7 separate regions of the Homo sapiens genome follow, and regions 1, 2, 3, 4, 6 and 7 are each linked to region 5. Evidence: promoter capture Hi-C in 16 types of primary human blood cells and fetal thymus (Javierre and others, 2016). All regions are on one chromosome and are shown on one strand. Each heading gives the region's core, a stretch centred on a gene start or on the middle of the fragment in contact. The rest is flanking DNA. Distances are from core to core; before and after follow the strand shown. Region 1 holds the start of RBPJ (recombination signal binding protein for immunoglobulin kappa J region). Region 2 holds the start of LINC02357 (long intergenic non-protein coding RNA 2357). Region 3 overlaps SMIM20 (small integral membrane protein 20). Region 4 has its middle 27 kb from the start of LINC02357. Region 5 holds the start of STIM2 (stromal interaction molecule 2). Region 6 holds the start of LOC124900690 (a long non-coding RNA gene). Region 7 overlaps LOC102723733 (a long non-coding RNA gene).

The links. Contacts are between HindIII fragments. The CHiCAGO score rates a contact against its expected background, and 5 or more counts as called.
Region 1: a fragment that was not itself captured here is called in contact with the fragment with the promoter of STIM2 in region 5 in 4 of 17 cell types (fetal thymus, naive CD4 T cells, naive CD8 T cells and 1 more); the score reaches 18.3 in fetal thymus.
Region 2: a contact is called between a fragment that was not itself captured here and the fragment with the promoter of STIM2 in region 5, in 1 of 17 cell types (monocytes). The highest score is 5.6, in monocytes.
Region 3: a fragment that was not itself captured here is called in contact with the fragment with the promoter of STIM2 in region 5 in 1 of 17 cell types (naive CD4 T cells); the score reaches 5.1 in naive CD4 T cells.
Region 4: a fragment that was not itself captured here is called in contact with the fragment with the promoter of STIM2 in region 5 in 1 of 17 cell types (M0 macrophages); the score reaches 5.5 in M0 macrophages.
Region 6: a fragment that was not itself captured here is called in contact with the fragment with the promoter of STIM2 in region 5 in 1 of 17 cell types (neutrophils); the score reaches 6.2 in neutrophils.
Region 7: a contact is called between a fragment that was not itself captured here and the fragment with the promoter of STIM2 in region 5, in 1 of 17 cell types (total B cells). The highest score is 5.4, in total B cells.

What each region holds. Positions count from the first base shown.
Region 1 is chr4:26,320,853-26,323,943 of GRCh38, forward strand. It overlaps RBPJ (recombination signal binding protein for immunoglobulin kappa J region), which reads left to right and starts at 162. Exons shown (of 11, transcript NM_015874.6): 1 at 162-196. The coding sequence starts at 177. RefSeq lists silencers at 206-335, 406-505 and an enhancer at 618-1,539. The HindIII fragment of the contact is 623 bases long and covers 1,306-1,928 here.
Region 2 is chr4:26,068,633-26,071,898 of GRCh38, forward strand. It overlaps LINC02357 (long intergenic non-protein coding RNA 2357), which reads left to right and starts at 2,122. Exons shown (of 3, transcript XR_925506.3): 1 at 2,122-3,266. The HindIII fragment of the contact is 9,846 bases long and covers 1-3,266 here.
Region 3 is chr4:25,919,847-25,922,935 of GRCh38, forward strand. The region is part of intron 1 of SMIM20 (small integral membrane protein 20); the gene reads left to right. Among named protein-coding and RNA genes, the nearest start is that of SMIM20, 7.2 kb to the left of the region's middle. The HindIII fragment of the contact is 5,874 bases long and covers 1-3,089 here.
Region 4 is chr4:26,042,507-26,045,456 of GRCh38, forward strand. No RefSeq gene overlaps it. Among named protein-coding and RNA genes, the nearest start is that of LINC02357, 27 kb to the right of the region's middle. The HindIII fragment of the contact is 2,942 bases long and covers 1-2,749 here.
Region 5 is chr4:26,859,423-26,862,594 of GRCh38, forward strand. It overlaps STIM2 (stromal interaction molecule 2), which reads left to right and starts at 1,419. Exons shown (of 12, transcript NM_020860.4): 1 at 1,419-1,947. The coding sequence starts at 1,797. STIM2-AS1 (STIM2 antisense RNA 1) reads right to left here and starts at 1,177. Exons shown (of 2, transcript NR_134674.1): 1 at 1,088-1,177; 2 at 202-606. RefSeq lists an enhancer at 976-1,075 and silencers at 1,166-1,535, 1,546-2,115. The HindIII fragment of the contact is 3,345 bases long and covers 1-3,166 here.
Region 6 is chr4:26,272,706-26,275,766 of GRCh38, forward strand. LOC124900690 (a long non-coding RNA gene) reads right to left here and starts at 2,720. Exons shown (of 4, transcript XR_007058094.1): 1 at 2,455-2,720. It also overlaps a transcript of RBPJ not described here. The HindIII fragment of the contact is 4,295 bases long and covers 1-3,061 here.
Region 7 is chr4:25,899,631-25,902,888 of GRCh38, forward strand. All of the region lies in intron 1 of LOC102723733 (a long non-coding RNA gene), which reads left to right. LOC105374538 (a long non-coding RNA gene) reads right to left here. Exons shown (of 3, transcript XR_925502.3): 3 at 1,180-1,605. Among named protein-coding and RNA genes, the nearest start is that of SMIM20, 13 kb to the right of the region's middle. The HindIII fragment of the contact is 813 bases long and covers 1,274-2,086 here.

The DNA of each region.
Region 1 (3,091 bases), core at 367-2,866, 540 kb before region 5:
CTCTGCGGGCGGCGCGAGGCGTCTGGCTCTTCGCGGCGGCGGCGAGGGGAAAGGGAGCGCGGGGGCTGGGTGGAATCGAGGAGTGAGGAAAAAGGGAAGGGGCGGGGGAGAGGGACCAGGGAAGGCGTCGGGGGGAATCTCGCGAGGGTTGGAGTTTTGGCGAGAGTTTGTGGAAGATGGCGCCTGTTGTGACAGGGTAAGTCTGAGGGAATCGGAGCGCCGGGAACCGGGAAAGTTGCGGGCGTCTGGCAGCTCACGGCGGGCAGCGGGTTCGGGGGCCGCGGCGCGCTTGGCGTTCGGGGGCCCGCGGGGGCGGCGTCGCGTGCGCCGAGCGCGGCGGCGGCGGCGTGTGGCCGTGCGCTGCCGCTCTGCGCTGCCGTGGCTCAGGCTCCAGCGCGTGAGGGCGGGCGGCGGCGGCGGCGGCGAGGCCGGCGGGTGCGGGCGTGAGTGCGGCAGGGCGCGCGGGGCCCTCGGGCGCCGTGCCTCCCGCGCGCCTCCAGCGGGCTCTGCCTGGGGGCCCCGTGCATCTTTGTTCCTCGCGGCCGTTGTCGCCGCTTCGCCCCGCTAGTGCCCCCGGCCCCGGGCGCTTTGTCTTTCACCGCTACCCGCTGCGACTCTCTACCCCCGGCCCTTTGTTTCGCCGCCTTGGGCGCTTTGTCCGACCCGTGGCGTCCCGCATCCCCTCTCCATCTCCTCCCCTCCGCTGTCCTTCCTCCCGTGCCCCTTTGTTGTGCCACACTCTTGTCGTTAGCCCAGTGACCTGCCACAGCCCGGGCACCAGATTTCTGCCTTAATTGTTCTTCCATTGTCTTTCTCCTGTGGGTCCCCTCTCACCTTTCTGTATGGTCCTGGATCACCCCCCGAGGCTTTGTCTCCCCCATCCACGGGCTTATTCTCTCGGCACCCCCTTCCTCTCCCGTCATCGGTTGATTTATCCACAACCCACGGTGTACGTCTGCTGAACTGTCTCAGCCCCGGGGACTCCATCTGCTGCTTCTAAGTGCACACAAGACTCTACGGTTTGTTGTTTTGTGGGTCTGAAAGATGCATGGGATACTTAGTTTTCTCCTCCGCACCTCTTTTTCTCGGGATTTCTTGTACCCTCCCGCCCCCCTATCGCCACCCCTTTCTCTCGGGATTAAAGCGTCTCCAATTTTCATCGCCGTCTTTTTAGTGCCGTGGGTTGTTTTGCTTGGAAACAGTAGCCTTGGAAAAAGATCTGGTCTCTTGGTGGTTCTTGCGCCCCCCGGCCCCCGCCCCCCTCCTGGTTCCTGACGGCGTAGGCCAAGGGCAGCTGTCTGTCGAAGCTTTGCAATCTAGGCTGCCTGAGGATGATTGGAGGGTATCGTAGGACGGTTAGAAGGAGGCTCAAGATGTATATATGTGTTTTTCTGTTAGTGTTTGAGAATAGTTTCAGATAGCCACAATGGATATTCATTTGGCGTGTGAGTAGGAGTTGAGTGAATTTCCATGTTAAAAACTTGTGAGTGTTGGGGCGGAGAATTTCAGCATTTTCTAGAAATCTGGATTTAGAATTTATCAGTAACTTCTGCCTCATAAGGAAAAGGAGAGGCATTCCGCTTGGGAATTTTATATAAATGTTTTATTTTTTCTTAATCATTAGATAGTTTACAGTTATGTGCTTTTTGCTGCCCTGTAGATGCGTGACAACCCTTCTGTCCCATCATTGGGGTTGAAATGAGGACAGCACCGAAGAGTGCAGTTTCTGGTCGATGAATACTGCTTCTAAGATCTTTGTGGAAGATATTAATCAAATGCAGTTAAAAAGTATACGTATAATATGTATATTATATATATATATACACACACACACGTAATAGCCTGTAGTGAGATTATTTTAAAGACACTTCCTAGTGTTAAAGAACCCTTGAAGTGTTTCGAGTTCTTATTGTTTTGGTAATGCTAAAAGCTTGGGGTTGTGTGAATGGGGGTGGGGGGTGTGGTGTGATGTATTCTAATGACTTGAGTTATTCTGGGTGCTAGGAATAAGAGTTATTATATTTACCAGGATTACTATGCTGAAGGTATTCTTCAAGAGTTTGTTTTTTTTCTACTGGTTGATCTCTACTTTTAGAAGGTATGTTACCCATAAAATCATTTGGAGTGTCATTTCATTTACAAACTGAAGTTCTACAATAGTGAAGTGTTGTTGATAGGGGACATACGAGATCTACTCTAACGAGTATTGGAGCATTGGAAAATACTTTTTTTTCTGGCTGTGATTAGAATTAGTAGTTTGAGTTTTAATTAATGGAAAACCATGTTTTCATGATTGATACATAAGTTTTTTTGTGAAAATCTGCAGTCTGGGTCGCTTGAGTGGGTTTTACCAATAATCTTATGTCTCCCTTACTTGTTCTTGTACATAATCATTGTTTTGAAGGTAAAATCTTGAGCTCACTGGTTCTCTGACTGGGAGCAAAGTGTAAATACTGTGTAGTAATGGAAGGTATTTTGCTCTGACTTGTACCTGTAAGAATGATTACACAGACATGATAAAAGCGCTTTTACCATTTGAGTTGCGTTTTTCTTTCTAAATCGTGTAATACTTTTACTTACATGATTGGTGAAATAAAACTGCTTTTAATTAAATTATAACAGCAGCATATTTCGAAATCTGGATGCGTTGTGGCTGGAGAACTTTCATTCTGAGTATTAACTGTTAAAGCTTTAAATTTTATTATCCATGCATATTGCTGATGGATCTGTGAGTATATTTTCAGAAAACAGGAGACTTGCAATATTTTCAAATCTGTACTAATACACACTTGTAGGCATTAGATTTTAAGCAGTTAGGTTTGTTAAAAAGTTATCTGTTGTCCTATACCAACAGATTTCTATCAATGTTTTTTTTAAGTGGGTAAGATCAAAATTGGTTTGGTTGACAGGCCATTCTTGCCAGATGTAATTCATTAAATAACCTTTGGCACCCTTGATGGGTAAGGCATTAGGAAAAAATTGTTTCGTTTGAAAGTTATTATACATCTCATTCTTCTGTTCATTTTTAGAAATAAGACCCAGGACTTGGCTTTAAAGCATTATTTTGCATTTTGCTTCCTCCTAATACTAA
Region 2 (3,266 bases), core at 85-2,584, 790 kb before region 5:
GTCTTCTCCATTGTTAGAAGTAGACTATAGGCTTGGAAGTCAGACAATCTCAGATTCCCATTCTGACCCCCTCACTTATAGGCTGTGTGGCGCTGGGTGAGTTACTTACCCTCTTTGAGTCTTAGCATTCTCATCTGCAGAATGGGTATGATAATAGAACTCCTATGCTGGAGGGTCCGTTAGGATTGGATCTGATTATGCAAACTAAATGCTTGGCAATGTGCCTGCTAATGGTAAATACTCAGTAGGTGATAACTGCCTTATTATGAATATTTTCTTATTCTTGTCATTAGCAATATGCCTCACGGCCGATGGGAGCACACCTGTGGGTAATAACACCGTGGCTGCCTCTTAGCCTATTAGAGAAAGGAAAACCATTTACTCCTAATTGGTTCACCTTTGTCCTTGAAAGTCATCATGCTGTGTTTTTTTTTTTTTTTAAAACATGCTGTAATTGAAAATTCAGTCTAATTCACCCAGCCCTCCCCTCCGTTCCCAATCAGTGGGACTTTTGCTGGATAGGGAACTGGGTTGTTCATAGGTTCTAAGCCAAAACCCAGCTTTAATTTCCTATTATAGGCCTGTCCTTTTTAAGATATGCTGGATGAAAACAACATCAGTGGTGGGGCAGAAGGAGCTAGGAATGGCCTCCTGTGCATTGACAGGGGAAGTATTCAGTCCCGTAACAATCTTTCAGCAGCCCACATACCTGGGCTCCATGTGGCTTGTACTCTCTGCCTCTCCAAGAAGCTGTTTCTCTTCACCACCCGTAGGGGGCAGAAATACCTTGATTAGGGCCCCCTCTAACAGTGTTTCCATCTGAATAAATGGGAATGCTGCCCGCTCAACCCTACAAGAATTTAATTAGTTTGGTTGTTGGCAGGTCCCCCAAAGATGAAAAGAGCAAGAGATTCCACTGTCTCATCCAAGCCAGTGTCCTCTCCGGCCCAGACCCAGTCAAGAGCCCCCTAACTAGTCCTGCTAAGTAAGCCCACTCTGACCCCGCCAGCACATTCTATGATAGAGAGATCCATTTAAAAATGCAATCTCATTCCATCACTTCCCTTGTCAAGCATTCTCAATCGCTTTCTCAATCAATGCTAGGACTCAGATTTTAGCCCCCAGGGCCCACGTCTGGCTTCTGCTGGCTCGTCCAGCCTCATCCAGGCCCTTTCTGCCTTTCTGTGCCCAGTCACACCAGGGCTTAGGCAGTCCTTTGAGTGTGGGGAGCTCCTGCCCACCTCTGCCTAGCTGGCATCTTTGCTGGGAGACCATATCTTCCTTCCCCACCTCCCACCTGTACTCAACTTTGCTCCTATGTTCTCAAGGTTTCTTATTTTTCTCCCCTGTGGGCTTACCCCTGCCTCCCCCAGTGGGATATCAGCTCCATGAGGGCAAGAACTGTGTTTTATTTACCTCTTCATTCCCAGTACTGACCACGGTGCCTGAGCGGCATGTAATAGAGAGTTGACAAACTTTTTAAAAATGACAATCTTTTTTTTTTTTTTTTTTTTTGAGACAGAGTTTCGCTCTTGTTGCCCAGGCTAGAGTGCAATGGCATGATCTCGGCTCACCACAACTTCCGCCTCCTGGGTTCAAGCAATTCTCCTGCCTCAGCCTTCCGAGTAGCTGGGATTACAGGCATGCACTACCACGCCCGGCTAATTTTGTATTTTAGTAGAGACTGGGATTCCTCCATGTTGGTCAGGCTGGTCTCGAACTCCCGACCTCAGGTGATCCGCCCGCCTTAGCCAAAATGCTGGGATTACAAGTGTGAGCCACCACACCCAGCCTCAAAAATGGCAATCTTTTATTATATTGGAATTGCACATGAAGAGCTCTGTTTTTGCCAAGGGAGATGGAGTGGAAGTTGGTTTATCCATTTGATTGCTGTAGACTCAATTATTCAAAGGGCAAATGCAGATCTGCCTATTCCTTCAGAATATTATGCTGTCAGGAGTTATTTCCCTTAATCTTAATGTTCCCTTTATGTCCTTCAAACTCCTTCTCAATTAGAAGATGCTGTTTATTACTTCCTTATCCATGAAGCCTCAGGCTTCTTTGGTGGTTATTATGTCACAGAGAGGAATCTTGTCAAAATCAAATGGAATGGAGGCAATCGGGGGAAAACGATTTTATTTTTCATCTGATTACCATCATTTTCTCTCTCTCTCTCGGGTCTAAGAGTGGGATGGATGTAGGAAGAGGAAGGAGTTGTCCTAATATGGGTTACTGAAATGTTATTGGCCCATGTTAAATACAGAAATGGAGGGTTTAGAAATGTTTAAGGTGATTTTACTTTGCCACAGTGTCCAAGCACCTGATCAATGATCCTGTCTTGATGAAGAGGGCAGTGGTGAGCATTTGGGGTGCTGTTGAATTTGTGTGGTGGCTCACACACACTAGGACCACATATCCTCCCTCAAAATTTTGGAAATTTTAAAAAACTCATCCTTAACTGCAGAGAGTTTATAAAATATGTTGTCAAAGATAACATAGCCCTAGTCACATGGTAAGGAAAAGCCAACATTCAAGAAATGCTTGGAAACTGAGAAATGTTAAAGGCAGGAGTACAAAGGAGGTGAAGAGAATGGTCACTGTAGGTTGAGGTGAAACAGGAAGTCGATCCTTGGAGATGAATCCTCAGAGGGTCTTGAAAAAAAAAGTTGGCAAATATTAAGGGGTAGAAGGATGTTTCAAGAGAGAGGAAGCCGTGAGCGAAGGCATGGAGGCCTATGCAGAAGATGTGAAGGCCATGCACATTATTTGCTGATTGAAATAGAAAGGTCAAGAGTCTGGGTTCTACCATTTGGCAACCGTCCTAATGATAATTGATTCAAGTAAGAACACTAATGGATGCTAAGGAGTGGGCAAGTTTGAGAAATAACAGACTATTTAGATAGTCTCAAAGTATCCGCCCTCCAGATTCTTAATGACAAAGCAAAACTAATAACCCTCCAATGATAAAACCTAGCAGATACCACCTTAACTAACTGATCAGTTAGTGTTACAAGAGATGAGAAAAATCCACAGCATTTGCCTCCTGATGTGATGCACTGGGGAAAACACAACAACACAACATCATATTTGTGTTATTCCTGCAAAAAAAAAATAGCATAACCTAAATCTACTCATGAGGAAACATCACGCAAATGTCACTTGAAAAACATTCTACAAAATAGCTGGTCCGTATTCTTCAAAAATGTCAATATCATGAAAGACAAAGATTGAGGAAGTGTTGCAGATTAAAGGAGACTGCAGACACG
Region 3 (3,089 bases), core at 181-2,680, 940 kb before region 5:
ATATATTTGTCCTGCCTGGTGCCTGTGACTCAGCAAATCAGTTAACACCATCACTATTGTATATGGTCACTGACTGTTTATCTTCACCCGCGTTCTTTACTCACCGACGCTGCTTACATTTCACTCCTTTCTAGCTTCAGTTTTCTCCCTTCTGACATACATCTGTTACTACTTCTTTGGTAAGAATTTGTAACTGGGAACCTCTGTTTTTGTCTATTGGAAAATGTATAGAACTGCAGGTCTTCTGCCATGGTTTTTGAAAAGTTTGTCACGCCATCCAAATTTAATCATCTCACTTGCTTAATTACAGTGCTCCAGTAACCCTTTGGTGTCTTGGAAGTCCAGCCAGTGGAGGGTTATTGAAGTATAGTCATGTGCTGTATCATATTTTGGCCCGCGATAGACCATGTATGACAGTGGTCCCATAAGATTATCATGGTGCTGAAAAATTTCTGTCGCCTAGTGATGTCCTGATGATCCTGACCCTGTGTGGGCCTAGGCTAATATATATGTTGTATCTTAGTTTCTCACACAAAAGTTTAAAAAGGAAAAAATAATAATAATTTTAAAATAGAAAGATGTCTATAGAATGAAGATATATAAAGAGAAAATATTTTTGTACAGCTGTAGATGTTTGTGTTTTAAGCTAAATGTTACTATAAGAGTCAAAAAGTTTTAAAAATTTAAAAGTTTATAAAGTAAAAAAGCTAGCTGAGGTTCATTTATTACTGAAGAAAGAAATTTTAAACAATAAATGTAGTGTAGCCTAAGTGTGCAGTGTTTATAGAGTCTGTAGTAGTGTACAGTAATGTCTTAGGCCTTCACATTCACTCACCACTCACTCACCCAGAGCAACTTCCACTCCTGCAGGATTCATTCAAGGTAAATATCCTATTTGGGTACACCATTTGGAAAATCTTTTATACAGTGTTTTTACTGTACCTTTTCAAGTTTAGCTATGTTTAGACACACAAATCTTTACCATGTGTTACAGTTGCCTGCAGTATTCAGTACAGTACCAGGCTGTACAGGTTTGTAGCCTAGGAACAATAGGCTATATCACATAGCCTGGGTGTGTAGTAGGCTACACTGTCTAGGTTTGTGCAAGTACACTCTATGATGGTTGCACAACAATGAAATCACCTAAGGACGCATTTCTCAGAATGTACTCCCACAGATGAGTGACACAGGACTGTATGTTAGTAAGAGCAGTGATCATATTCACTCTTTACAAGCATCACTCTGATTGATTGTATGTTAACTAGAAGGTGGAAAAGTCAAATCTGGGGACAGGAAGGCCAGGTACGGGAAGGCTGTGTTTCCTGTGACCTCAGGGAGACCAGAGTGGTGGCTATGGGAGTGGAGATAAGTGACTGCATTTGGGAGCCATATTTAAGAAGCAAACTGGTGGGCATGGTGGCTCAAACCTGTAATCCCAGCACTTTGGGAAGCTGACGCAGGAGGATCGCTGGAGTCCAGGAGTTCAAACCAGCCTGAGCAACATGGCGCGACCCTGTCTCATTTAAAAAAAAGAAAAGAAGTAAACTCTACAGGGGTCTGTGGCTGATTAGCCACGGGGCAAAGAAGGAGAATGGCACCCAGTGTTCTGGCTCCAGCAGCTGAGGAGATGGAGATGCTGGTCATTAGCTAGAAAACACAAGAAGGAATTGGTTTTAGGGGTGAAAAGACAAGTTAGTTTGCTTTTGGGCATTTGGGTAGCTTTTGAGGCTGAGGTAGCTGATGTGCTCTTTGAGATTTCCCATAGACAATGGAATATACCGATCTGGGGCTGAGACGCCGGATGTGAGCTGCAGCTGGAGATGGGGCATCATCAGCACGTGGCTGGGAATCAGGTCACTGCAGTAGGTAAGGGTTCCCAGGCAGCATTCAGAGATTGTAAGGGGCAAGCTGGCCCGGGGCAGTGTGCTGGGGAACACCAGTGTCAGAAGGGCTGAAGCATAGGGGGTCAGAGGAAGAGAAAGGCCCTCTAAGGAGACTGAGGAGGAGTGGCTAGACAGGTTTTAAACCAGGAGAGGCTGCAGTCACAAGCCCCATAAAGACAGCTCTTCATGAAAAGGGAGTGTGGTCAGCAGGGTTAGGCTGCTTAGAGACAGTAAAAGAGATAAGTGAAAATATGAATTATATTTAACAGAAATAAGTTAGAAGTGATTGGTTATATTGTTAAACATGCTTTCAGTGGTTTGGAAGTAGGCAGAAGGCAGGTTGCAGTGGATTGAAGTGTATTAAGTTGACTATTAATAGTGTATTAAGTTGACTATTTATAGATGTTTAGCTGTATGGAGAGGAGAATGGCAAAGTTTCCAGCAGGTCACAGGGTCTGGGAAGAGTTTTCTTTTAGTTTTGGCTGGAAGAGATGGAGGGCCAAGAAAGTCTTAGACAGAGAAAGCTGCTGGAGAGAGAAGACAGTCCGTAGAGTGGGAGGTGACATGAGATCCTGAGCTCAAGTAGAGGAAAGAGCCTTGGACCAAAGGCAAGGCACCTCTTCCACCAGCTCAGGAGGAAGGATGGTGTGGATGCTGCCATATCTAGGTTTGATGTTGGCAAGTTGTGGGCACTTCCAGGTGATGGCGTCTATTCTCTTTGTGACACAGGAAGTCAGGTCATTTATGAGTAAGAGGCACCAACTCTAGGCCATCCTCTCCTTCCTTGGAGCACTGTCTTCCCTGGGCCTCTCCACCGTGGAAGGTCCTCCTGGGTTTGCTCTTTTGCTCCTGCCTTTCAGCCACTCCTGTTAGCCTTTCTTGTTAGGCCTTCTCTCCTGACCGTCCTTCATACATTTCATTCCCCAGGATCCTGAGACTGTGGGGCAGAAGCCCATCATTCTTGGATGGACAGGGCAGAAGCCTACTCCCTGAGAACTGGGTTACTGGTAAAAGCAAGACTTAGGGCTGGCAACTGGCAAGGCAGTCCATGTAGAGCCAAGTGTCAGATCAGTCCGGGCCCTTCACCTGTGCCAGCATGGATATGGGGACAGGTACGTTCCAGGGTCTCTGCTGGAACAAGCATACAGGCAGCAGAAAAGAAGGGGAAGCCTGCTTAGGTAAAACAAAGCCAAGGAGATCTTCCAT
Region 4 (2,950 bases), core at 29-2,528, 820 kb before region 5:
CAGATCACTGCTTACTCTTGGTACAGGGCTGGAGTGGAGTTGAGGATTGCATAAGTGTTGCAAGCAAAGAGAATGTGCTAATAAATGCATATTGAATGAACAAATGAACAAATCCACCAGATCTATGTGCTCAAAAATCTAACTTAGAGACAAGAACAAGTAAAATAAATTGATACAAATAAGAGGCATTATATAATCATGTGGCACTACATACATGTACATATTATTAAATAGGTCTCAAATTGATATTGTTTTCTTTCCCACAAAACACATTCTTCTTCCTGAAGATCCTTATTTGTGGCTGGTGTCCATTTAGCCACCCAAACCAAATCACCCATCCTCAATTTCCCATTCACCCTCAACTAATCTGGCTCAAGTCGATAGGCACACAGTCCTGTTTATTTGACTTCATCTCTTGGTTTTTGTTTTTGTTTCTTTTTTTGTTTTTTGTTTTTTTGAGATAGGGTCTCCCTTTGTCACCCAAGCTGGAGTGCAGTGGTGTAATCTGGACTCACTGCAGCCTCCACCTCTCCAGCTCAAGTGATCCTCCCACCTCAGCCTCCTGAGTAGCTGGGACCACAGGTGCACACCACCACACCTGACTAGGTTTTGTCTTTTTTGTCGAGACAGGGTTTTGCCAAGTTTCCCAGGCTGGTCTCGAACTCCTGGACTAAAGAGATCCTCCTGCCTCAGCCTCCCAAAGTGTTGGGATTACAGGCGTGAGCCACCGTGCCTGGCTTTTGACTTCATTTCTTGATGCTTCTATGTCCTCTTCATCTCCACGGCAGTTCCAGCTCCCATTACATCTCACAGCACTGAAGCTGGCCTCCACCTCCGGCCTTTCTACTCTGCAGGATAAGTCTTTCCTAAAAATCCTGGTCCTTCCCCACTTCTCCAATAACTCTTTATTACCCCCCTCCAAGGCAAAGCGCCACCTCCCCAAGTACAAAATATTTTATTACCTGGACTAAATCTACCTTGTCAGTCTCTCACCCACACTTGAAGTCTTAGCCAGGCCTATGAATTCACCTTTTCCTCAATATACCACAATTGTTCCTCTCCCCACATCTTTTTTCTTGTTAATTTTAAAAAATTGTAATAAAATATACATTTCATAAAATATATCATTTTAACCATTTTTACGTAGACAGCTCAGTGATATTAAGTACATTCACACTGTTGTGCAACCATTCCCACCATCCATCTCCGGAACTTTTTCATCTTCCCCAACTGAAATCTTATGCCCATCAAACAAAAGCATTCTCCCTTCTCTCAAGCCCCTGGAAACCATTCTACTTTCTGTCTCTATGAATTTTACTACTCCAGATAATCCATATAAGTGGAAGCATACACTATTTGTTTTTTTGTGTCTGGCTTATTTCACATAAGGTCTTTGAGATTCATCCATATTTAACATGTGTCAGATTTCATTCACTTTTATGGCTGAATAATATTCCGTTGTAGGCATGGCCCATATTTTGTTTATCCAGTCAGCCATCGATGAAAAGTTGGGTTGTTTCCATCTTTTCACCCTTATGAATAATCCTGCTATGAACATTGGTGTACAAACCCTGTTCAAATCTCTGCTTTCTTTCCCCTGGAACCTTTATTGCATGTTCCTTCTGGCTAGAGAGTCAGCCTGGAGGCATCTTCCACCCCTCTTTCTGAAGAACTCCTATTCATTAAACAAAAACAAACAAACAAACAAACAAAAAACACCTCATCTCTCAAAAGTCCATTTTCTAATTTAATCAAAGACAGGTAGCCTTGACTTCCTCTGCATCTTCCTAGCCTTACATACTATGCCCTCTTATGGTCCTTATTTCACTGAATCACAATCACTTGTGCCATTGCCTTCCTCCCTTGCTAAACTGTACTTTAGTGAAAAGGGAGCTTACCTTGTAATCTTTCTCCTCCAGATATCATGCCTAGGCCACTGTCAGAACTTCATAAATATGTGAGAAGAAATAGTTTAAGGACTACCTCTGGGTTCTTCAGTCCCAACCTCTCTAGGGACTCAAGGAATATTATCAACTAATGCTGATTTTTATTGTTTGTTGGCTCCAGGATAAAGATCTAGCACAGATTTCTGACCTTCGAAGTATTTTCTGGCTGCCACAGGGTCTTATTTCCCTGGAGGTCACTGAGGAGATGAATCACCATGGTTAGACCCTCTGAAATGCAACTTCTTTGAATCCTATTACTCATCTACCTACACAGCCCTGGTGGGAAGGCTCGAGCCAGCTGAGCTTTCATTTACACCTTCAGCCAGGCAGACTGAAACCTTTCTAATCATGCCAAAGTGGAGGACCAGGGGAGCAGAGTGAACATGAGTTGAAATGAGCTCTCAACTTCAGAATTAAAAAGCATTTTCTCAGCCTTTCTAAGGACCATGTTGCTAAAGGTACAGACTTTAATAGTTATAAGAAAGCCATTGAGAAACCTAAAAGACAGGTCTTGGCTCCCCATCCACTCCCCTCTTTCCCATTTTCTTGGCTCTGCTCCTTCCCTGCCAGCTCCATCTTTCTTTCCTGAGTATCCTAGTGTGTGGCCTTGGCCTTCCTTTTGCCTATGATCCCAACTCACACAAAGGAGAAAGCATCTCTCAGCTGCCTTGGATGATGATGTGTTCAGCACATCACAGTGTGTGGCTTTCATTTGTTTATCCTTTTGTTCATTGACCTCACCTCTTGTGCTCCATGCTGGAGGAATCCAGATATCTGCTCACATTTGAGAGGTGGGAGCAGGAAGCTTGTGCTGCCCCCCGACAATGAGGGAAGCACACGCATGCAGGCATGTGCACGTGCACACTTTGAAAAAAGTTCAGTCACGTCCTAGTAAAGTTCAAGTGCAATTTCCCATCTGGATCTATTTAAGTCCAGAATGGGTTGAGGAGTTTAGTGTAGACTCCTAGGATAACTGAACTCATCCTCAGATCATATTAACCTCT
Region 5 (3,172 bases), core at 169-2,668:
GTTGATAGATTGACTTAGCCTCAAAGACATCCTTGATTCTTTTCTAAAGTGTGCATCTGCCCTTCCACAATAAACGATATTTGTGGTTATCTTGGCCAGGCTACCTAAGAAATACTTTAGGAGAATGTAATTTGAGTATCTTCTTGGCTTGAGAAAGCAAGCAAACAAACCAATAAGCAGAATGAAACCAACAAAACCCAATAGCAAAAGGATCTTCGTGTTTAATAACCCTATCTGCAAATTTTAAACAATTTTGTGCCCCTGGGAGAAAGAATGCCTCCTTGCGTGTGAATTTCCAGGGCTTTTAATTTATAGTGACAGTACATTCAACACTTCCTTTTAAATTTGAAGGGAGGTGGCCTTAAAAATATGCTGGCAACTAGTTTGGATGAGAAAGATTCCGGTTCTTTATTTATTCAAACCAATTAGACCAGGTCTGAACAGGATTTACAACAGAGAGCAGATCTTGGGTGCACAAGAGCTTTGCTTCATTCCAGGTTGGCGAAAACAAGTCAAGTCTACATCATTGTTCTGTCAGCCGGTTCAGGATACAGCACAGAGTCGATGGGATGGGGGTGGGAAGGTGATGAGTTCAGGTAAATGTACCTAGGAGAGTCAGAGGCTAAAGTAAATTCTCTTAAATAGGCCTTTTCAGTGGCTGCTAAATCTCGCTCATTTCCCATGAATTAGCTGTGGGATATTGGGGACAACTTACTTCACATTTCTAGGTCTTAGTCTCTTCATTCGTAAAAGGGGGTAACGATAATTTTGGAGTTATAGCATGTAAATGTGTAAAACGGTTAGAGCAATGCCTGGTACACTCACACATAGCACGCGCTTTGTGAAATGTTTGGCAAGTAAATAAAACGCTAAGCTATGCTAACCGCGTCTAAACAGCCAGCCACTTGTAAGCCCCACCTATATTGAAATTACGGGGACGCTGCTGTTTTCCGATTGCAAGATTTTCCTGATCCATGCAATTACTTTCGCTGCCCTCTACGAGGCTGAAACTCGCCCTCAGGATGTGGGACGTCTGGACTCTTCTCTCCGTCCCCTTGTAGCCCCCCACTCCCCCTCGCGGTGGTACCGTGAATGAGGGAGAGGTACACGTCCCCCTTCTTCCCCGCCTCCTATCTTCGCGGCTCGCTAAAGCGTTATCAGCCGCCCCACGGTACTACCGTCCGTCTAGGAACGCCTCCGGGGCGGGGCTGGGATGCCGCGCACGCGCAGTACAGCAGCGCCGCGCCTGCGCCGTGGAGAGCCTGAGGGAGGCGGGGGATTGGTATGCGAGCGAATGTGCGAGGGGAGGGAGGCGTCCCGGCGGAGCGTGGTACTACGACCAGCGCGGGCCGGAGGGGGCGGGGGGATGCGCCGCGGCGGCGGCGGCGCGGGAGCTGGGGTTGGTGTTTGGCGGCGCCAGAGCAGCGGATCCCGGTCTCGCCGCAGCAGCAGCGCGGGTGTCGTGCACCGCCTGAAGACGCCGTACCTTTCTACCCCCCACCTTTTTTTTTTTTTTTTTTAAATAACCGGAACCAATGAACGCAGCCGGGATCAGAGCTCCGGAGGCCGCCGGTGCCGATGGGACCAGGCTGGCGCCCGGCGGGAGCCCGTGTCTGAGGCGGCGGGGGCGGCCGGAGGAGTCGCCGGCGGCGGTGGTGGCGCCTCGCGGAGCCGGCGAGCTGCAGGCGGCCGGGGCGCCGCTGCGCTTTCACCCGGCTTCTCCTCGGCGCCTTCATCCCGCCTCGACTCCTGGCCCAGCGTGGGGCTGGCTGCTGCGGCGGCGGCGCTGGGCTGCGTTGCTGGTGCTCGGGCTGCTGGTAGCCGGAGCGGCGGACGGATGCGAGCTTGTGCCCCGGCACCTCCGCGGGCGGCGGGCGACTGGCTCTGCCGCAACTGCCGCCTCCTCTCCCGCCGCGGCGGCCGGCGATAGCCCGGCGCTCATGACAGGTGAGGGGCCGGGGGGCGGCGGGCGGGGCTCGGCCGGCAGCGATGGGACCCCCAACCCGTGCAGAGGTCAGCATCTCCGCCGGACGTCCGCTATTCCGCGGCTCCGGCCAGGGCGCGATGCGGAGCCCTGCCTGCTGCTTCGTCGCGGTCCCCTGCACTCCGGACGTCTTTCCTTTTCACCCCGACACCCCGCCCTCGCCGAGCCTCTCGACGGCACTGATTCCCCTCCCTTCAGTCGGGCTCTCCGATCTTCCAAGCTGAGCAATGCGGTGGTTTCTCTTTCGTGCTGCAGAAGTGCCAGCAGGGTCTGCAGGGGACTGGGCTGATTTTTTTTTTTTTTTTTTTTTTGAGGCTGCTAGAAAAAGTCAGCAGCAGCATTGCGGTATTGAGTCTACCTCTGGTGCTGCTTTTGCAAAGGCAGCTGGCAGCGAGTCTCACCGGTTCAAAGCTCCGCTTGAGCACAGCGTCCCAGGGGAGCCTGCTAAAGGGGATTCTTTGAGAGCCATAATACCTAGTGATATTAGTGGTTCCGTGTTAGTATGCAGAAATGCCTAAGTTTACAGTGCATTTTTTGCGGGGTGGAAGGAGGCCGTTTTAAGTGGTGATGGAAAGTGTTTGGTGGTGGGAGCATCACTGGGTGACAAAGGGTGTAGAAACCTCAGCAGGTAACCAGAAATTATACCTAAAATTTGCAAAGTGCAGCATACTCGGGGCTTGCAGCTGGCAGCACAGTTCTGATAGACTGCACTAGCACCTTTTTTTTAATATATAGAACGATCTCATAATTGAAAACTTGGAAACGTGTTTTGTAAGGTTAAGTGCAGAATTGTATCCTTTTTAAAGCCTTCCGGTGTTATGTACAACTGATCAGTTGTGGTTTAAGTAAAAGTTATTATATAAGGACCCTGAAATGATTTCTTTGGGAAAAGTAATGGAGCTAAAATAATGGTTTTTTTTTTTTTTTTTAGTATTTCACTTATTTTTAAAGTAGATCTGTAGATTTCCTACAATAATTGTAAGACTAAAAAGTTTAAAGTGGCAGAAGATGACCCGTGATTAATTTAACCAAAATGATAGTCCTGCGGGCGTCTGGAAGTTACTAACAGCTTCTCTGACAAGTGCTCAGGAACTGTATTCTTTAAAGCCAAGCAGTTTCTCTGATTTCTATGATAGGATATTTACTATTCTAGAGAGAAGAAGGATGTTGGTAAACTTTAAAAGCTTT
Region 6 (3,061 bases), core at 290-2,789, 590 kb before region 5:
ATAGGGCTTACTTTTCTCTGTCCTTGGGGTGCACCAACCATATTTGAAACCATGAGGTAGGTCTAACACCAGGAAGGGGGTGATGGGATGGAGGAAAGTCCTATTGGATCTGCATAATGTACTCATTGTTTAAAACCATACATTGCGCAGAAAGCTGTGGTTAGATTTGTGGTGTGAAACAGGGAACTCTGCAACTCTCAAGCAAGAGTTTCCATGCCTAAGGTGAATGTTTACATTACAGACGCTGGAATCCCTGTTAATACCTTAGGTGCTTTTTTTTCATGAAGACTGTATTAAGTTTGAGATTTTCTTTCACTCCAAGTTTTTCAAAACAACAGACCATAAAAAGGAAGTTTCAACCAACAAAATTGACTTGAAATAAAAATTGGCCTGTGTGTCCCAAGTTTACTCATTTGCAGGACTACCTTTTGCTGTCTCCCACTTCCCTTCCTCTCATTGCCTCAGCCTCTTTTTTAAGTTCCTAGTCAGTTAAGGCACATTTCCTGATTTGGCAAACACCACCCCTCCACCTCCTTTTTCTTGGGTAAAACTTCCTGAGCTGACATTAAAGAGAACTGTTACCTCACCCGAGAGCTTTAGGAGGAAAATGGCATTTAGGTTTTATTACATAAAGCCCCACAGTAGTTACCACTTTATAAAATTCAAATGACTTTTTTCCAAGCTCCCAGTTTTCCAAAGCTGTCTGCCTGGCGACCTCCCAGAGGGCGAGATGCCTCCGAGGGAGCGTGGAGCGGGCCTCCCGGCCTTGGCAGGCAGCTAGGATGAAGATCTTTCCAGCTCTAGCTGCCTGGAAGGAAACTGGCAGCAGAGAGCAGTATCTATGTCCGAGGCCATTCTGGAATCTAAGAGGAGGGCACAGATTCCAATGGCTCAGGGAAGAACCACTCTGTATCCCACTTGCACCTAGGGGTACTAATCTTTCTGCAGAAGAACCTAGCAGCGGGGCCTGGGAGCTCTTTTCACTCAACTGCCTCCCTCCCCTCCTCCACTTTCAGGAAGAAGTGGGGAAGTGGGAGGTCTGTTTGCATCACTGGTAACCACAGCCATTCCCGGTGCCCCTTGCCGCCACCCTTCCAGTGCTTGGTATGCCAACGGTTCTTCCCTCTTCTTCTTTGAAGCTGAACGCAGCCAAGACACAGTCATCGCCATTTGCATCTTCCTGGGAATCCGATTAGGCCCGGCTTTACTTCTCCTGGAGGTGTCTGTGTCTTCTCTGGTGTAGAGGAAAAAAAGTTTGTTCTTCTTCCATTCCCCTGCTGCCTATGGGTCTTTGCTCAGATGTCACCTTGTCAGAGAAGTCTTTCCCAACCACAGGTGTGGCCTCAACCCCAGATATATGCTTTTCTACTTCTCTGCTTTATTGTTCTCCATAACACTTCTCACCTCCTAAAATACTTTGTACATGTGTTATATTTTACTGCTTCATTTGATTTTCTGCCTATCTTCTGCCATCTGCCCCATGCTCACACCCACACCCTGCATCCCGAGCACCCACAACAGTGCCACATACATAGTAGGCGCTCGATAAGTATTTGTTAAATAATGAATGGATTTGAGACTTTCTGAAACCCTAAGGAAGATAAGAGAAGGTATGATTTTTGATTAAGAAAAATGTTTCTGGCCAGACACGGTGGCTCACCCTTGTAATCACAGCAGTCCAAGAGGCTGAGGCAGGAGGACTGCGTGATCCCAGGAGTTCAAGACCAGCATGGGCAACACGGCAAAACCCTGTCTCTACATAAATTTTTTTAAAAATTAGCCTGGCACAGTGGCATGTGCCTATGTTCTCAGCTACTCAGGAGGCTGAATGGGAGGATCCCTTGAGCCCAGAAGTTTGAGGTGGCAGTGAGCTGTGGTCATGCCACCGCATTCCAGCCTGGGTGATAGAGCGAGCGAGACCCTGTCTCTCAAAAAAAAAGAAGAAGAAGGCTGGGCACAGTGGCTCACACCTGTAATCCCAGCTCTTCGGGAGGCTGAGGCTGGTGGATCACATGAGACCAGGAGTTCAAGACCAGCCTGCTCAACATGGCAAAACCTCGTCTATCGAAAACACAAAAATTAGCCAGGGGTGGTGGTGCACATTTGTGATCCCAGCTATTCGGAAGGCTAAAGCAGGAGAATTGCTTGAACCCAGGAGGCGGAGGTTGCAGTGAGCTGAGATCACGCCATTGCATGATCCTAGCCTGGGTGACAGAGCGAGACACCGTCTCAAAAAAACAAAAAAAGAAAAGAAAAGAAAAAAGAAAGGAAAGGAAAAAAGTTTCTAAAGTACCAGGGCTAGAGGAAGGGATTAGAAGCCATAAAGGAAGATAGCATTCATGGGATAGGGAGATGGCCACATTGTCAACTAATATTTGTAATAGACTAGTGAGATGTCATCGTCCCTATTTCATAAATGAAGCAACTGAGGCACAGAGCATTTGCATAACTTACCCAAGGTCACACAGAGGGAAAGTGAGAGACGGCATCAAGGTGTGGAACCGTGCTCTTTTCACTGCTGTCCCCTGACTTCTGCTTAGACCAAAGCCTGGTAATTTGACATCCTCAGCAGAATCAGATGCATAAGCCCCAGATTCAAATCGCAGCTCTGCCACTTGCTGGCAGGGTGACTCTAGGCAAGGTTCTGGGCTCCTATGGGTAACTGTTTTCCTAGGAAGATAATGAAAAGGGAGGACCTAGCATGCTATGAGTCTACTTATGCCTCCCAACAGGCCAGTGGGGCAGGAAGGGAACAAGTATTACTAACACCGGAAAAAGAAATTAAAACCCAGGGGGACTATGTGACTCGGGTGTGGCTAAGCAACATGTCAAGTCAGTCGCCGGAGAAAAACCATCCAGGAAAGAGGTATCTTGACATAACACAACTGTCAACTTCTCTCCAAATCATAGGTTTTTTGTTTTGTTTTGTTTTGTTTTGTTTTTTGAGACGGAGTCTCGTACTGTTGCCAGGCTGGAGTGCAGTAGCGCGATCTCGGCTCACTGCAACCTCCGCCTCTTGGGTTCAAGCGATTTTCCTGCCTCAGCCTTGCGAGTAGCTGGG
Region 7 (3,258 bases), core at 430-2,929, 960 kb before region 5:
GGCTCCCGTGGAATGGGTTCCCTACAGAAAAAAAAGGGGTCTATTTCAGAAAGACATGCTGGAGAGGTTTAATAAGAAATGCCTCTGGCCCTTGAAATGGCCCACAGGACAGAAGATAAATGAGGCTTAAAAAACATCAGGTTTCTAGAAAAGTACTCAGTGTAATTTCTGCAAAAATAAAAACAGAAGCTATATCTTATAGACAAGAGCTTGCTGCTCCAATTTTTAAAAATGCCTCACTGCCTTTATGGTCCTTACACCTACATCAATTATTACAAGAGATGAGGAAGGCTGGCGGGAGTCACGTGGACTGAGAGGGCCTATCATTATGTCAGCTGATAACACTGGGATGTCCCTGCAAGGAAGACCGGAACATGGCCAAGTGAGGTAACTCTTTATGGATATACCTAGGTCCCACTATGTACAAGTGGGGTAAAGTGGGAGTGAAAGCGAGTTTAGGGGCAGGAATGCCAATGTGCAAGGGGCCCTTCCATTGAGAAGAACCCTGTTTAAATCCACTTAGGTTCATGTCACAGTAGTTTTTTCTTTTTTCGCTTGTTAGTTTTATACTCTGATTTTATGAAAAATACCCCACAACTCAGGTTTAATTTCCCTGGGGGAGATAGCTTTGAAATAACTATTAAACCTCTTTTTCCCTCTTTTTGCTACACTAAGCAAACTGGGAAATATTTTCCCTGAGGACAATAGCCCAGTCATTCATGCAGTAATCATTTTAATGCTATTTGTTTCTTCTTCCTTTTTTTAAAAAAAACTTTCCAACAGTGTTTGCATATAGCCCTCCCAATTTTATATTTCTACATTTTCTTTTTTATGAGTAAGACAGATGACATATTCATGTGTAGGATTCTGTGAGAAATTCAACTTAATTTCATGGCCAGGGGTAAATGTGAATGACTCATTGATGAAATTAGTAAGCCCTTTGCACAGCAATTGAAAATTTATCTATCTGGCACATTCATTTCATTGTCACACAACCACAAGAGGCATTATCCTCAATTTATAGATGAGGAAACTGAGTCTCAGAGAGATGAAATCTTGTTAAGGTGCCGCAAGTAGATTTGAACCCAAATAACCTGACCCAAACAAAAACAATCAACATTTCCTGTTTAAACCCCTTGCGTGCCGTGTGCTATTTAATCTCAAAAAAAATCTGTGAGCTAGGTTATGATTATCATCTTTATTTTACAGATAAAATTGAGGTTTTCAGGATTAAATAAATTGATGATTCAAACCCAGATCTGCCTTATTGCAAAGCTTTGTCCAAACACAGAACTTTTCCCGAAGCCTCAGTTAGCTCTGAAAACTCCAAATCTGGTGGAGGTAAGAAGTGAGGGCTGGATCCGAGGCCACAGAAAGGAGAGCAGGCAGATCGAGCCCCCTGCTTGGGCTGAGAAGCCTTCGCCTGCCAAGCCAGCTCTGTGGATGAACTATTTGCAGGCCATGTTCATTCAAAAGAGCTGAGGCAGCCTGGATGGAAGCCCAAATGCCAAGATAAAGGTGCCCGACTGACAAAATGCCAGTGTGAGCTGTTGCCTGCTGGCTTCACCCGCTGAAAACTTGGGGACCCCCATGTTCACAAAGGCACTGCAGACAGAAAGAAATGTCTGGTAAGCAGAGAGGTCTCCGCAAGCCCAATTATCCACTCTAGCCCATAATCGTGATTGTGGTGCATACCCAGCCCTACCACGTCGGGGGTGGCCCCATGCAGACATGGAGGCGCCAGCTGGTGCACCGCCAATTCTTCATCAGCAACGAAGGGCAGCCCTGACATCTCTCATCTGCCCCAAGCACCCTCCTTTAACCTCCTTTACATGACAAAATTTCCACTTACAAGTTAATCAAAACCCTGACCATGAATGAGAAAGAAAAAAAAATACTCCGTTAATTAAAAATCTCAAAAGATGCCAATGGTAACAGTCTGCAGATGCCTTCTTCCTCTGCTAATCCTACAGGAAAACCAGACATCAGTGATCAGTTTAAGAATCACAGGTGCTGTGATTAGGCCTGAGAGCATTTAGCTGTGACAAGTGGAATGAGAAAGATTTTTAATCTTCCTGAAATCCCAAGCTTTGAAAGTAATTAAATAATTAATGAGAAGCAGGGCTTCCCCTTCCTTCCCAAGAGAAGTTAAGTTCCCAAGTTTCTTCCCTGTGCAATACTGTCTCTTAAATGCATAGACGAAGTATCTCCAGTCATTCAACAAATATTTATTGAGCACCTACTCTGTGTCAAGTCCTCTGGAAGGTGGTGGACACACCGCAGGGAGGTTGACAAAGTTCCTGCACTTACCTTCTAGAATGAGGGACAACAATTAACATGTAAATGGGTAGTTTGAGGGTGTTGGAATAAAAAGCAAGATGCATACAGCGTGAAAAGGGGGAGGACCCCTTTAGACCATGTGGTCAGGTACAGCCCTATGAGGTAGTAGTACCACTTGAAGAGATACTTAAATGACAAGTGTCTTTGTCTTCTCTTGCTTATAACTGAATACCTGAAACTGGGAAATTTGTAAAGAAAAATACTTCTTATGGTTATGAAGGCTGAGAATTCCAAGGTCAAGGGGCTGCACCTAGGGTCTCTGCAGTTTCAAGGCAGCTCAGGGTATCGCGTGGCAAGGTTGCCGTGTGTGCTAGCTCAGCTGTCTTCCTTTTCTTGCAAGGCCACTAGTCCCACTCCCGTGATAACCCATTAACTCATGAATAGATTAATCCACGCATGATCCAATCACCTCTGAAAAGCCCCACCTCTCAATACTGCAACATTGGGGATTAGGTTTCAACATGAGTTTTGGAGAGGACAAATATTCAAGCCATAGCAACAAGTAAAGCCAGGCCAAGAGCACAGAGCATTTCAGGCAGAGGAAACTGTAAGTACAAAGTCCCATAGGCTAGATCAGACCGGATGTGCTCAAGAACAAGCATAATACTTGTGTGAGGTAGAAGAGGTCAGCAGGGACAAGTCCCCTAGAACCTTCTAGGACATAGTAAAATGTCTGGATGTTATTCTAAGCGATCGAAAAGGCTTCATTACTATTTTTTTCGTGTGTGTGTGTGTGTGTGTGTGTGTGTGTGTGTGTGTGACAAGGTCTTGTTCTGTCACCCAGGCTGGAGTGCAGTAGAGGAATCATAGCTCACACAGCAACCTTGATCTCCCAAGTTCAAGCGATCCTCCCACCCTCCCACCTCAGCTTCCAGAGTAGTTGTGGTGGCACAGGCATGCGCCGCCATGCTTGGCTAA